3 separate regions of the Homo sapiens genome follow, and regions 2 and 3 are each linked to region 1. The links are contacts of gene promoters, found by promoter capture Hi-C in human tissues and cell types (Jung and others, 2019). All regions are on one chromosome and are shown on one strand. Each heading gives the region's core, a stretch centred on a gene start or on the middle of the fragment in contact. The rest is flanking DNA. Distances are from core to core; before and after follow the strand shown.

Evidence for each region. The method cuts DNA at HindIII sites, captures the fragments that hold promoters and counts their contacts. A contact is called where the count stands out against the background at its distance.
Region 2: a fragment that was not itself captured here is called in contact with the fragment with the promoter of SCUBE1 in region 1 in 1 of the 25 tissues and cell types used here (dorsolateral prefrontal cortex).
Region 3: a fragment that was not itself captured here is called in contact with the fragment with the promoter of SCUBE1 in region 1 in 2 of the 25 tissues and cell types used here (H1 embryonic stem cells and dorsolateral prefrontal cortex).

The regions. Positions count from the first base shown.
Region 1 is chr22:43,340,700-43,345,542 of GRCh38, reverse strand. It overlaps SCUBE1 (signal peptide, CUB domain and EGF like domain containing 1), which reads left to right and starts at 2,171. Exons shown (of 22, transcript NM_173050.5): 1 at 2,171-2,369. The coding sequence starts at 2,282. The HindIII fragment of the contact is 4,801 bases long and covers 1-4,145 here.
Region 2 is chr22:43,782,145-43,786,987 of GRCh38, reverse strand. EFCAB6 (EF-hand calcium binding domain 6) reads left to right here. Exons shown (of 32, transcript NM_022785.4): 3 at 4,663-4,808. The coding sequence starts at 4,670. Among named protein-coding and RNA genes, the nearest start is that of EFCAB6, 28 kb to the left of the region's middle. The HindIII fragment of the contact is 4,110 bases long and covers 188-4,297 here.
Region 3 is chr22:43,684,342-43,689,184 of GRCh38, reverse strand. EFCAB6 (EF-hand calcium binding domain 6) reads left to right here. Exons shown (of 32, transcript NM_022785.4): 11 at 1,604-1,714. Among named protein-coding and RNA genes, the nearest start is that of EFCAB6, 130 kb to the left of the region's middle. The HindIII fragment of the contact is 6,599 bases long and covers 1-4,843 here.

The DNA of each region.
Region 1 (4,843 bases), core at 922-3,421:
TGTCCTAAGAGGCCTCCCTGACGGCGCCCTGGGGCAGAAGTGACCTCCTCTTTCTCTGCTCCACAGGCCGCCTCCTTTCCTTCACCTGTGAGGGGCTTACAGGTGTGTCTTCTCTCCATTTCCCTCCTCCTCTGCTCGCTGAGTCCTCCACATAGACAACAGCTGCCTAGAAGGAACCACTTTCTCTCTGCCTGCACACCTTAGAGGGTGATAATTCACCAGCAAACTTGACCTGAGCAATCGCTTGGGGGCAGGCTGGGGACTACAACTTGGTACAAGGGACAGCTACCTCTGGGCTGAGGGGTCACAGAGTAACCTGCCTCCATTCCTGCCTTGATTTGTGGGGATGGAGCCTGGAAGAAGCTTCTCTTGCTGCCATCAAGCTTGAGGGGCACCTGGCTAGGGCTGGGCGGGGGGGTGCCTAATGACCAGGCACATTAGAGGGCATTGTTTCAAGTAGGTCAGAGCCCCCTGGAAGAACCTCCCCCACCACCTCACACTGCTTGCCCTGTTGCCCAATGCACAAGATAATATGTGGTTCTGAGGGAACTCCCCACCCCCTGCAGAAACTCAAAGCTACACAATTGACGGGGACAAAATAAAGCCTGTCAACAGCATCTCCCAAATTAAACCAGCAGCCAGGAGCAGCCGTGCAGACCGAAATGTCTGGAGCAATGGGGTGGGGGCTCAGTGGAGACAACAGGCAGCGCTTCCTTCTTCTTTGGGCATCTCTGGACCCCCCACACCCCCGATCCCCATGTAGGGGACCCCTTGCCTCAGCCACCAGGCCCGTGCCACAAGCTGATGTGAAGTCAGATGGGGTGTGAGAGCTGGCTGGACACAGATTTAACCTTCCAGGGCTGAGGAGCTCGTCTACGGTAGGTTGGATGAGGGCGTGAAGAAGCATGTGTGAGCGTGTGTGTGCTGGAGGGTGTGAGGGTGTGAGGCTGTGTCTGAGTGATTGCACGTGAGAGCATGTGTCTGCATGTGTGACTGTGTGTGTGTGTGTGTGTGTGTGTGTGTGTGTGTGTGTGCGTGTGTGTGTTGGGGGCAGGAAAGGGAGCTGGTGTGGAGGGGCTCAAACTGGTGCAGGCAGAGTGGACAAAAAGAGAAAAGAGTTGTCTTTGAGTTGGGCCTGGAGAGCAGGAGAAGAAAAAAGGAGCTCTTATTGGTGGTTGTCAAGGAGATGGGCCTTGGGGTTTGCTGAACTTTCGTCCCTTAAAGCGTCCTGCCTGGAACTGAGAGGGGCCATTTATTTCCAGCCGCCCGTCCCTCCCAGGCCCGGTGGGACCAGACCCGAAGCCAACCCTCGCCAGGCGTCAGGTGTAGACCCCAGGCCAGGCCAGAGCAGTTCCTGGGTCTTCGGACCGGGATGCCCGCCCTGCCCCTCCTCCTGGCCCCGCCCGGTCTGTCACAGGGGGAGGCCTCGGCCTCGCATTCCGGGCAGCGAACTTCGCCGGCCGAGGTTAGCCCCGTGCGGGGGCCTCCCGCGGGACCGACCGCCAAGCGGCATTGTCCGTCCCGGGCGCCCGCCCGGTTCCAGACGCAGGTCCTGCGGCCGCCCCGTGACAAGCACACTGACGGGCCACTGTCCTTTGACGAGTGCTAAAAAGTTCGTTTGTTTTGAACGTCAATTTTCAAGTGATCTTCACGAGGTTTCCCCTCCCGGTTCCTTCGCTGCTGCCTCGCCCGCACTCGGTCCCCAGTAGGTGCTCAAGAAACGTCCAGCAAACGGCAGCGCAGGCGAGTCTGCTCTGCGCGCTGGCGCGTTTCACTGCCCACGGATGGCGGGCGACCTCACGGGATCCCCGGTTCGCAGGATCCCCGCCCCCGAGGCTGCCTCTGGGCCGGGAGGGGTTACCCCAGAGGGGCGTCCACTCTCGACGGCGGGGGCCGGGGCGCCGCGGGCAGGGGAGGGCGCAGCCTCCAAGCAGCCCCAGCCTGGCCTAGACCCCGCGCCTAGCGAGCCGGCCGGCCAGGCCCACACCCCCCACCTGCCGCCCGCCCCAGGGGAAGGGTCCCCCCGACGACGCCCGAGCCCCCCTCTTCCTCGGAGGGCCGGAGGCCGGCGCCCATTGGCCGGCCCTGGGCGACGCCCCGCCCCTCCGACGCCACGGGCCAATGAGCGCGCGCTGTCAGCTCATCAGCCGGGCTGGCTGGGCGGCTCGGGAGCCCGAGCGGTGGCGGAGCGGCGAGCAGCGAGCAGCGCCTGCGGGAGCGGCCGGTCGGTCGGGTCCCCGCGCCCCGCACGCCCGCACGCCCAGCGGGGCCCGCATTGAGCATGGGCGCGGCGGCCGTGCGCTGGCACTTGTGCGTGCTGCTGGCCCTGGGCACACGCGGGCGGCTGGCCGGGGGCAGCGGGCTCCCAGGTAAGCCCCCGACCGAGGTGGGGGGCGGCGGGCGCGGGGGGCTCGGGCGGCCGAGGCGCGGTCCCGGAGGGCTTCTTCCCCGCGGATCCCGAGCTCGCCCCGCGCGGCCCCGCGCCCCCTGCCTCTTTGCAAAGTAACTTCTAGGGCCGGCCCGGGGCGCCCCCTCCCCGCAGCCCGGGCGGCCGGGGCTCCTGAGTCCGGCGGGGCCGCACCAGGGGTGGGTGGGCCGGGGCCCCGGGAGGGGAAGCGCGAGCGCGGGAGCGAGGAAGAAAGGCGGCGGTTCCCGGGGACCCCGCGTGCGGACCTGGGCGGGGCGGGACCCCGAGCGCAGAGGGGCGCTCCTCCTGGGAGAGGGGGCGCGGGGCGGGGCGGGCGGAGGGGGACACGCCAGGAGGTGGACGGGGAAAGGGACGGACCGAGAGACCGGGACGGGGCGGGAGGTGCGGGACAGACGGACAGAAGAGCCGGCGCCGAGGGAGCAGACAAAAGGAAGCCCGGAGAAAAGACAGATGCGGAAGGGTAGAGAGGAGGCCCGCACCGCCCGGGGAAGGAGGAGGAGGCCGGTGGATCAGGGGGAATCAAGAGGGATGGTCCCACCGATGATAAGGGAGAGAGAGAGGAGGAGACGGGGGACAGATGGACGCCGCAGAAAAACGGGGTTGGGGGGGGCGGTGAGAGGGAGACCGGGAAAGAGAGAGGGACAGAGATACCTGGAAAGCCGCAGACGAGGGACCGGGACCGTCTGACAGGACGGGGAGGAAAGACAGAGGGAAGGAAGGCAGAGGATCCGGAGGACAGACACAGGGAGGAGAGTCCGGACGCGGGACGTCGGTGGAGCAGACCCAGGAAGGGGAGGGGGAGACCCGGAGGCCACAGGCCCAGGCCCGTGGGTTTCACGGGGACCCCCCCACCCTCCCACCCGGTCCCCTCCTGCTCTCTGTCTTCAGGGGCTTCCCGAAAAGCTGGAGTCACATTCTCCCCTCCTCGTCATCAGAGGCGCTTCCTCCGGTGCTCTGCTTGGAGGGGGAGGCAGGGGGAGGGTCCTGCACGTCCTTCCCGGCTTCCTGAGGTCTGGTATGGGTGGCGTAGGGTCTATTCCTGGTGGTCCCGCGTGCCCCGAGTGAGGATGCTGGGCCTGTGAGACTCTTCCACAGCAACACCCCTCCTGGAAGCCCAGCCCTGCTGCCCCATCATCCCCCTTGTGTCTGTGGGTGTCTCTCCCAAGCTTTGGGGTCCCTCACCTCTGAGTGACTGTTCCTGGGCGTGCCTATCCCCACCTGTGTCCCTCCTCGTGTCTCTCTGTATCTGACTCTGTCTCCTCCACGACCCTCTCCGTGGAAGCCCTGTGACTGTGAAACCCCAGCAGCATGTCCCCAGCATAAGCAAACCAGAGTCAAAGGGAGCAGCCTGTGCTAGGAGGGCTGGGTCGCCCTGCAGGGGAGTCTCCAGCCCAGACAGGAGCGGGAGCATGGCAGAGAACCGATGGGGACAAGTGGCTTCTCCCTCTCTCTCCTCAAACTCCCATGTCCTCTCCCCACACTCCACACCAAGGACACCCAAGTGTTTAAAGGTGTGTTGGGAGATAGCTCCACCCACCCCTCATCAACATCCATCCATTTCCATTCCAGTGAAGACACCTGCCTAGGTGGGAGATTAGGGGTGAGGGCACAAGGGGCTCCCACCCCTCATTCCTACATACTGGCCCCTGGGAAGTGGGAAGAGCCATATCTGTGGCCCACTGCCCCTGCTGGTCCTGTCTCATAAGTGACCCCAGTCCTCCCAAACAGAAGCCTGGAGATGGGCCCTCTCTGGCCTCTGGGTCCCTGCCTTAGAGGCAGTGCCAGTCCTGCACAGTGTCCCTCTGTTGCCACTTCCCCAGAAGGCCCTCATGGATGTTCCTGCTGGCCCAGCCATCCAGTTGCCGGCTGGGCCCCCTCCAGTTCCTGCCTCCTTGTCCCCTTTCCACTCTTCCCCTGGGCAGCTGTCTAGGACAGGCCGCCCACCTGAGCAGATGGGTAGCCCCCCCCGGAAAGCAATGCCACCTGCCGTGTGTGTGCGCACACGTGCATGCATGTGTGTGTGTGTGTGTGTGCAGGGGGGTCATGCTGTTGTGTTTCTTGTTGATGCCTCTCTTCCTTCAGGGGTGGGCAGGAGACTTAGGGGCTAGGGCAAAGAAGGAGAAGCCCTGGGGGGCATGGATCTCATAGGCCCCACTGGCAGATTTCGAACCCAGATATTATCCAGGGGAGAAATTTAGAGTGGACACTCTTGGGGACCCAGCAATCTAAGGTGAGACCAGAGGCATGAAGAGATGGGGACATTCCAAGCTTACCCCTGGGGCACTGCCCTCATGGCAGCTGCTGAGAGTTCCTTGCACTGCTGCACTCCTGGGTCCTTCTGTCTGTCTGTCATGTCTACATTTCATGCATTGCTAGCTAGAAGTCACATGGCACATAGGAAAGCTCATTCTGTGT
Region 2 (4,843 bases), core at 993-3,492, 440 kb before region 1:
GCTTTTTCTGCACTTAGTGAGATTATTATGTGTTTTTTTTCCTTGATTAATAATATGGTTTATCACATTAATTGATTTTTGTTTGGTCAACCTCTCTTGCATTCCTAGCATAAATTTTGCTTGACTGTGCTGTCTGATTTTTAAAAATATGTTGCTGCATTCAGTTTGCTGGATTCTATTTTTGAGAATTTTCCCTATACTCATAAGGAATATTGGTTTTTAGCTTTTTTTCTTTTCTTTCTTTTTTTAAATTTTATTTTATTTATTTATTTTTTTTATGGAGTCTCGCTCTATCGCCCAGGCTGGAGTGCAGTGGCGCGATCTTGGCTCAGTGCAAACTCTGCCTCCTGGGTTCATGCTGCCTCAGCCACCCGAGTAGCTGGGACTACAGGTGCCCGCCACCATGCCCTGCTAATTTTTTTGTATTTTTAGTAGAGACGGGGTTTCACCATGTTAGCCAGGATGGTCTTGATCTCCTGACCTCGTGATCTGCCTGCCTTGGCCTCCCAAAGTGCTGGGATTACAGGCGTGAGCCACTGTGCCCGGCCACTTTCTTTTTTTCTAATGTCTTTTCTGATTTGGTATCAGGGTAATACTGGCGTCATAGGATGTGTTGAGAAATGTTTTTTCTTCTATTTTTCATAAGAATTTGTGAAGCGTTAGGTGAATTGATCTCAGCACACTTTAACATCCACCTCCCAAGTTCAAGCGATTCTTCTGCCTCAGCCTCCCGGGTAGCTGGGATAACAAGCATGCGCCACCATGCCTGGCTAATTTTTGTATTTTTAGTAGAAACGGGGTTTCGCCACGTTGGCTAGGCTGGTCTCAAACTCTTGACGTCAGGTGATCCACACACCTTGGCCTCCCAAAGTGCTGGGATTACAGGTGTGAGCCACCATGCCCAGCCTTGAATTTTTCTTTAAATGTTTGGTAGAATTTACTAGTGAACTCATCTGGTCCTGGTTCTGGACTTCTTTTGCAGGAAGTTTTTTGGTTATTAATTCAATCTTTTTGTCATAATTCTATCTAGATTTCTGTTTTTTCTTTAGTCAGTTTTAGTATCTTACATCTTCCTAAGAATATTTCCATTATATCTAGGTTACCTAATTTGTTAGCATACAGTTGTGTATAGTATTCCCTTATAATCATTTTTATTTCTGTAAGGTTAGTGGTAATGTCTCCTTTCATCACTGATTTTAATAATTTGAGTGTTTTCTCATTGTTTTTGGCTGGTCTAGCTAAAAATTTGTCAATTTTGATAATCTTTTGAAGTAACTTTGATTAGTTTTGTCTATTTTTCTATTCTTGATTTCATTTATTTCTGCTCCAATCTTTATTGTTTTCTTCATTCTACTAACTTTGGCTTTAGTTTACTCTTATTTTTCTAGTTTCTTAAGGAATAAACAGGTTAGTAATTTGAGATTTTCTTCTTTTTAAAATATAGGCATTAACATCTACAAATTTTCATCTAAGCACTGTTTTAGCTGCATCCTGTAAGTTTTTATATGTTGTGCCTTCATTTTCATCCATCTAAAACTATTTGGTAATTTCTCTTTTGATTTTTTTTTTGACTCATTGGTTATTTAGGAGTGTGTTGTTTAATTTCCACGTATTTGTGAATTATTCAATTTCTGTTTTCATTCTGTATGGTTGGAGATTATACTCTGATAATTTCAATCCTTTTAAATGTATTGAGGCTTGTTTTATGGTCCAAGATATGGTTTATACTGGAGAATGATCCATGTGTGCTGAGAAGAATGATATTCTACTATTGTTGGTTGGATGTGTTCTTTAGTTGTCTGTGAGGTCTAGTTGGTTTGTGGTGGTGTTCAGATCTTCTATGTCTCTGTTGATCTTCTGTCTAGTTATTCTACCCATTATTAAATGTGGATATTGAGGTTTCTAACTATAATTGTTGAAGTATCTATTTTCCAATTTAGTTAGTTTTTGCTTCACGTATATTGGGGCTCTTGTTAGGTGCATATATGTTTATTTTTCCTTCACTTGCCCTTTCTCAAATGCTCTTCCTTTTTTTAATATAGATCTGAGTTTCTGACATATATCTTTCTTTCATTTTCTTTTGTTTCTTTCTTTTTAAAAAAAATTTATTTAGAGACAGGGTCTCAGTCTGTCACCCAGTCTAGAGTACAGTGACATGATCATAGCTCACTGTAACCTCAAATGCCAGGGCTCAGTGATTCTACCATGTGAGCCTCCCAAGTAGCTAGGACTACAGGTGCATGCCACCATGCCTGGCATATATATATATGTGTGTGTGTGTGTGTGTGTGTGTGTGTGTGTGTGTGTGTGTATATATGTATATGTATATATACACATATATATGTGTACATATACATATATATGTGTATATATACACATATATATGTGTATATATACATATATATGTGTATATGTACACATATATATGTGTATATATACATATACACACACACACACACACACACACACACACACATATATATATTTTTTTTTTTTTTTGGTAGAGACAGGGCCTTGCTCTGTTGCCCAGGGTGGTCTTGATCTCCTGGCCTCAAGCAGTTCTCCTGCCTCAGCCTCTCAAAGCACTGAGATTGCAGGCATGAGCCACTGCACCTTGCCTTGCCTTTCTGAAGAATTCCTTTTAACATTTCTTGGAAGTAAGTCTGCTGGCAACACATTCTCTCAATTTTTGTTTGCTCAGGGAAGTATTTCTCATCCACATCCACTTTTGAAGAGTAATTTCATTGAGTTTGGAATTCTAGGTTGGTGGGGTTTTTATTTCAACACGTTAAATATTTCACTCTACTCTTTTCTTTCTTGCATAGTTTCTGAAAATAAGTATGGACCACACTTCCTTGTTTCTTTGCACATCTCATAAATTTTTGTTGAAAACTGGACATTTTATTTATTTATTTATTTTGAGACAGAGTTTTCTCTGTTGCCCAGGCTGGAGTGCAGTGGCGTAATCACGGCTCACTGTAGCCTCAACCTCTCAGGTTCAACTGCTCTTCCCATCTCAGCCTCCTGGTGGCTGAGACCATGGGTGCATGCCACCATGCCTGGTCAATCTTCTTTATTTTTATTTTTTTTGTAGAGACAGAGTCTCAGTATGTTGCCCAGTCTGGTCTTGAACTTCTGGGCTCAAGTCTTGAACTTCCTGCCTCAGCCTCCCAAAATGCTGGGATTACAGAGATGAGACATCATGCTAGGCCCATGACATTTTAAATAATATAATGTAGTAGTTGTGGAAATCATATTCTCATCCCTTTCCATGTTTTGTTGTTGTTAACTGCTTGTTGTTCATTTGTTTATAGAGTTTTCTAAAATTTATAAAGTCTGTATTCTTTGTTATATATGGCCACTAGAGTCTGATTGGTTAGCTTAGTGGTCAGCTCATGGTTGGATAGAAATTTCCGTAAATGCCTGGGAACAGTATCTCCCAATTTTTGCTGAGGGGCTTTTTGTATTGGAGCATTCCTTCAACACTTAGCTAGGCAGTTTATAACTCTGTCTTAGCCTTCATTTCCTGCTTGTGCAGAGCTTGAAGGTCAGTTGGAGGTGAGAGGTTAGGGCCTTCTCAGGTCTTTCCTGAGCACACACCTCTCCCTGGGAATGGTTCTAGCTCTGTGTACTGAGTGACTTCCTAGATTCCCAAGAATATGTGGGCGCTTTTTCAAGTCCCTATCGACATCTCATTCCCCAGCTTTTCCCTTGAAGCTTTTTGGTTGCCTATTATTTGCCCCGTTATCCACCTATTCAGGTAGCCATGATTTTAAACAACAATTGCCTCTGATTTCTTCTAACAAATGCCTCTTCATGATAGGCTGTGTTCACTGAGTGAACTCTGAGTTCAAATAAAGACAGCCTTGGGAGTAGGATCTTTCAGGGAAACATCAGGTCAAATAATGATAAGTTCCGGGTAAGGAGGCTTTGACAGAGCTCCAGCCCTGTTCTGTCCACTCCAGTGACTGTCAGCCTGCTGGGTTTTCCCTGTGATTGCAGGCTGATGGTTTTCAAGGCTACATCCAAGCTGTTGGGGCAGGGGGAGGCAGGTGAGGGAGAATGGGAATGAGGCAAGTTAAAATGCCACAAGGCATGTTCTTCATATTGAGATTCAGCCATTTTGGGGGAATAAATGCTCCCCAGATTGCTGTAAGCCTTTGGTTAATTTCCAGAGTTCTGAAAAAAAATTGATTTCAACAATTTTTCCCAGTGTCCTCATTGATTTAATGAAGGAGAGGATTTTCGGAGGTCCTTACTCCACCAGTTTCGCTCCTGTCATCCCAGCTTTGCCTCTGACTGCATGTTGAATTTATACTGAGGCACTTCAAAAAAGCTCAGAGAATCCAAACTTTCTTCCCCTTACTGCCTACCAAAGAAATGAGTCACTGATAGTCAAGATGTAGGTGGATTTTTCTGTCCAAAAGTCTCTTTATTTTGCCGTTTTTGAAGTTTATTGGATATGCTGAAAACAAGGAGTCCAAAATGATGATTTTTGTGTTCACTTTAAGAATAGTCTGAAACATCAGCAAAGCAGATTATGACTAGCATCATTTTTACACTCTGCAGCTGTCCCTTCAGAAAAGGAATAGATAGGAAATTGGCCACATTTGGAATGTATGCTCTTTAAGGTAACGTAATCTGTTTTCTTTTATATCACAGGGATTTAATGTGCAAAATGGCGATTATACCAGACTGGCTTAGGTCGCATCCTCACACACGAAAATTTACACATTCAAGACCCCATTCTTCACCGTGTAGAGTATATTCAAGGAATGGTTCCCCAAATAAGTTCAGATCTTCTTCAAGTAAGTATTCATGAGCAAATAAGAACACTAACTGT
Region 3 (4,843 bases), core at 1,268-3,767, 340 kb before region 1:
CTAGCCAGCTCATCTCTCACCTGCAAGGTTTCTAGCTGGGAGTCAGGCACTGATACATCCCACCCCCAATTGCAGGTGACAGGAATCAAGCTCCCTGAGTGGAACAAGGCTTCAGGTGAGGAGTAGGCATCCTTCACTCTCTCTTTTGTGGTGGGGTTGGGACTCAAGCATACCAAAAGATTTTCTCCCAGAATTCACTCTTTTATCCTCTATTATCTGAATTTTTTAATACCCTAGATGTAGATAAAGAATTTGTTTGTCTAACCAGTTCGCTGTCAGCCATTAATTTTTAGCAATCAAAACAGGGCAGTCTGTTTCATGCCCACTTTGAGATCTCACATCAATTATCTAAGGAACTCAGCCCAAACTACTTTTTGCCATCCTGTTAGGGAAGGATAGGCATGGTTTAGTGTGTAAGTCACAGAAGGTGTTTGTGACACAGGTCAGTGTATGTGATAGAATGCTTGCTGGTTTTCCAGCCTGCAACCGAGGCTTTTTGACCTATTAGCTCTAATCCTTATCACAACCCTCCTAGGAGGTGGTATTATTCTCATGTTACAGATGAGAGGAATACAGAATCAGCATAGTGAGCAGCGAGTCTGAGGTCACATCAGTAGGAAGTGCAGGAGCAGGTACTCTGGTCTTTCTGAAACCCATGCTCACATCAGGTTGCTCCCACAGGAATCTTATAACTCTGAAATTATTGGACTCTGAGTCATGGGACCATATTCACTTTGGAAATGTGTTTTTTGAACAATTTTCCAATTATTCTTGCTAAGACTTTAAATCTATACTAACTTTCTATTGCTGCCATAACAAAGTACACGAGCCTAGTGGCTTATAACAACACATGTATTATCTTCATGTTTGGTAGGTTAGAAGCCCAACATGGGTCCACTGGGCTAGAATCAAGGAATCAGCAGGGCTTTTTTCCTTCTGGGGAATCTGGGGGCAAATTCATTTGCTTTTTCTAGAGGCTTCTAGAGGCCACCTGCATTTGTTGGTTCACAGCCCCTTCCTCTGTCTTTCAAAGCCACCAGCGTCACACTTCTGCCCTTCTGTCCTCATGTCTTTTGATGGCTGCAGCTAGGAAAAGCTCTCCAATTTTAAGAATGTATGGGATTAGAGTGGGCCCACTTGGATAAACCAGGAGAGTTGCTCCATCTCCAGATCCGCCCTCCACCACATCTACCATGTTTCTTTGCTGGGGCAAGAACGTAGTCACAGAGGCTCAGGATTAGAGGGTGGACCCCATGGGGGCCATTGTCCTCCCTGCCACAACATAGAGGCTCTTCACATGATGAATTTGAAAGAATTATTTTATGGACATTATTATTTTAATCAAATCCCTTAGATTCTTCTTTCAGTGTATGCCACCATTAACAATATAGAGGCATGCAGATCTAATATCAGTTTGATTTTTCCTTGCTTTAAAAAATCAATTTGTAGTACTATTTTACTAAGTGATTTTGTTTATATTAGATTTGAAACTTCATATAAATGCATTGCTGCCATTTTCAATTCAACATTAAGTACCTAATCCATGCAGTGTTATAGAAAAAATGTTTAAAGTAATGTTTTTTGTTGTTACTTTTAAATCCAGATTTGGACTTAAAGCCACCACTAAAATCAATTGGAAGCAATTTCTAACATCATTTCATGAGCCTCAGGGGTTGCAAGTTAGCAGTAAAGGTCCCCTGACAAAAAGAAATAGGTATGTAAAAAAAAAAAAAAAAACAAATTTTAGTTACACATATCATAATATGTAAAATATCAGAGAATATCTGTGCTACTTTTTCTGCATTTATTGAATGATCGATTAGTCTCCATTGAATAATTGCCAACTTTTATATAGTGATTTACTGCTTACAAATTTTTCTTATTGAAAACTGCCTTAAACTATAAGGTTGGTATAATTGTTATGTCAATTTCTAGATGAGAAACATAAGATGATACAATCTGAACTCCATCACCTGCTCAGAGTGTGGTGGAGACAGCTATGGACCACAAAGGCTCCAGGCACACAGGCCGCCACGGCAAGCACTGCTCCCTAGCTCTAAGCATATCCTTGTAACATTGTAGGTAAACGTGTATTTGTTAGGTGTTACATGGAAAGGAACAATATATGTTGATTTGTTTTCCAGCCACTGAGTGGCCCAGATATCATGGGTCATGGAGATTATTTGTCTATCATTATTTCTGTTTTCGTTTTAATATCTATTATAACCTCAGATTTGCAATACCAAATATCTTGTGATGGGGCCCCAAAATGTTTTTTAAAAAATTTAATAATATGAAATTTTAGAATTTAGCTTTCTGCTCTGAGAAGTATTTTATGTTGATGCGTATCCTGTATTCATTGCCCTCTATGAATCTTAAAGAAAAAAACAGGCTTTATAATCTTGGCACGTTCATTGAAAGTGCTGTGCTCTACTGTAAAGTAAAATATACCATGGAGTTAATTCCCATTTTGTGGGTCCTGTCCCTGTCTCGGGGATTTGTGAATATTTAATGAACTGCGCCTGTTAACAGCCTTGCAGGTAATCAGAGCGCTCCCTCTCTGCTCCAGAGCTGCAACCTCTGAGTTCATTCGTTATGTGAAGTTACTTCTGTTTCTTTTTAATTTTCTTGTCCAATAGCACGTTGTCTAGAGAGGCTGTCAGAATTAAACTTAAAGTTTTATTTACTTTAAAACAGTGGTTCTTAAATGGGGACAATTTTTCCTCCCAGGAGATATCTGGCAATGTCACAGACATTTTTGGTTGTCACACTGAGGGTGGGGAAGCTACTGATGGGAGCTGATCATAACCCCAAAAGACACAAATGCCATCATCCTTAAGGTTGAAACCTCAGAAGATCAAAATCATGAAAATATAATTCTGAAAAAAAAAATTAAAAATTATTTAGGCTGGCACGGTGACTCACGCCTATAATCCCAGCACGTTGGGAGGCTGAGGTGGGTGGATCACCTGAGGTCAGGAGTTCGAGACCAGCCTGACCAACATGGAGAAACCCCATCTCTACTAAAATACAAAATTAGCCAGGCGTGGTGGCGCAAGCCTGTAATCCCAGCTACTCGGGAGGCTGAGGCAGGAGAATTGCTTGAACCCAGGATGCAGAGGTTTGCAGTGAGCCGAGATCTCACCATTGCATTCCAGCCTGGGCAACAAGAGGAAAACTTCATCTCAAAAAAAAAAAATTGTTTTAAAAATATTTATTTACATTGTAAAAGGGGATTTATTTGAGAAACATAAAAACACAATAGAACACTTCAGAGGCCACTTTACACAAAAAATAGGCAAAAATGACACATATTTTTCAAGCATAAACACTTAGATATACTAGTGACCATCACATAGGTGTGACAGATATGAGCAGATGAACCATATTCCTAAAGAAATAGGTCAAAAAGTGAAACATGTAAATGCATATCCCTATGGTGGGTAATCGCATGCACCCAGTTTCATAACTGCAGTCATTCAGAATACCGTGACAGATAACCTAAGTCTTTTGCAAGATCAATCAAAATCCGCGATGGGTCACCACTGCCTGTACAGTTGCCCAAAGAGCCAAGATCTTGAGAAATTTTATCTTTTACAAATGCAGTGAACAAAAATGACGTCTCTTCATATACTGAGCGAGTTTCAGTGTTTGTACACAACACACACAATGCTCACACACTAAGGCAACGTTGTGATAATGCATTTTTGTGGAGTCAAATTTCCGATGTCCAAGGCAGCGGCAGAAAATGTCCCAGCTCCGAGGGAGAGCTGTGTTCTCTCTGGGCTCCCAGCTGATTGGATGGTGCTCGCCAACACTGAGGGCAAATCTTCCCCCCGCACCCTTCCTGCCCCCACAGACCCACACACTAATCTCCAGAAACGCCCTCGCAGGCACGCCCAACACAGTGCTTTACCAGGTTTCTAGGTGTGCCTTCATCCAGTCAAGTTGACACCTGAAATTAAGTCCACAAATCTGCTCTCGGCAACTTGGTACCCAGAGGCATCTCCTTAAACCAAACTTAATTTCCAAATAACGACAATAGCAAGGTTGTAGTTCCACCTAACATGATGCAACTATGCTGTGTACAACTGAAAACACACAAATCCCTTGCCTAGAATTTGGCTTTGGGGTTTTAATCTTTCGAGATTGTGCTTTTTGCGATTTTAGGCATTAGGGGCTTTAGAATTTAGAGATTTTGATCTTTTGGGAGTTCAACATTTGGGATTATGGCATTTGGGATTGCATCTTTCAGGATTAAGATCCAAACCTGCACTGATCTAGTGGGCGGAGGCCAGGGATGCTGCTCAACACTCTGCAGTGAGTCCCCACAGCAAAGAGCTCTCCAGCCCCTAGGTCAGGGGTACCCGGTGGATAAAATCTGCTGTAAAAAGCATCTCTTCATGCCAGTGCTGGCCGTCTATAGAAAAAGAAGGTTCTAACAAGTCATGTGAGGAGCTTAGACTCAGGAAGCCAGCATATGTTTCTGAAAAGTGGTGGTAGGCGTAGGCTTATTGTTTCTGCACAAACGGAAGAAGCTAAGATGGCTGTATAGACGCAGCAACAAAAACTCCCAAACAAATCTTAGAATGGTTCCGCAGGTAAACTGACTGTCATTCATTGTTTCATGGGAAAGGTAGGATGGTCTAGTAGAACATCAGAAAAGAGAAGCACCCAATGGTATATTGTGATGAGATTCTGACAGTCTCCCTTTCTGAGCCAAGTCCACATTGAACTTGGTTTTGGTCTCCAGAGGGGGTAGTCCTGGCCTTCAGGAGCACACATGTACACTGACGGGCCCCGAGCTCAGGGATGAAAGAGGCCATAGAGGGAAAGGGGGTCT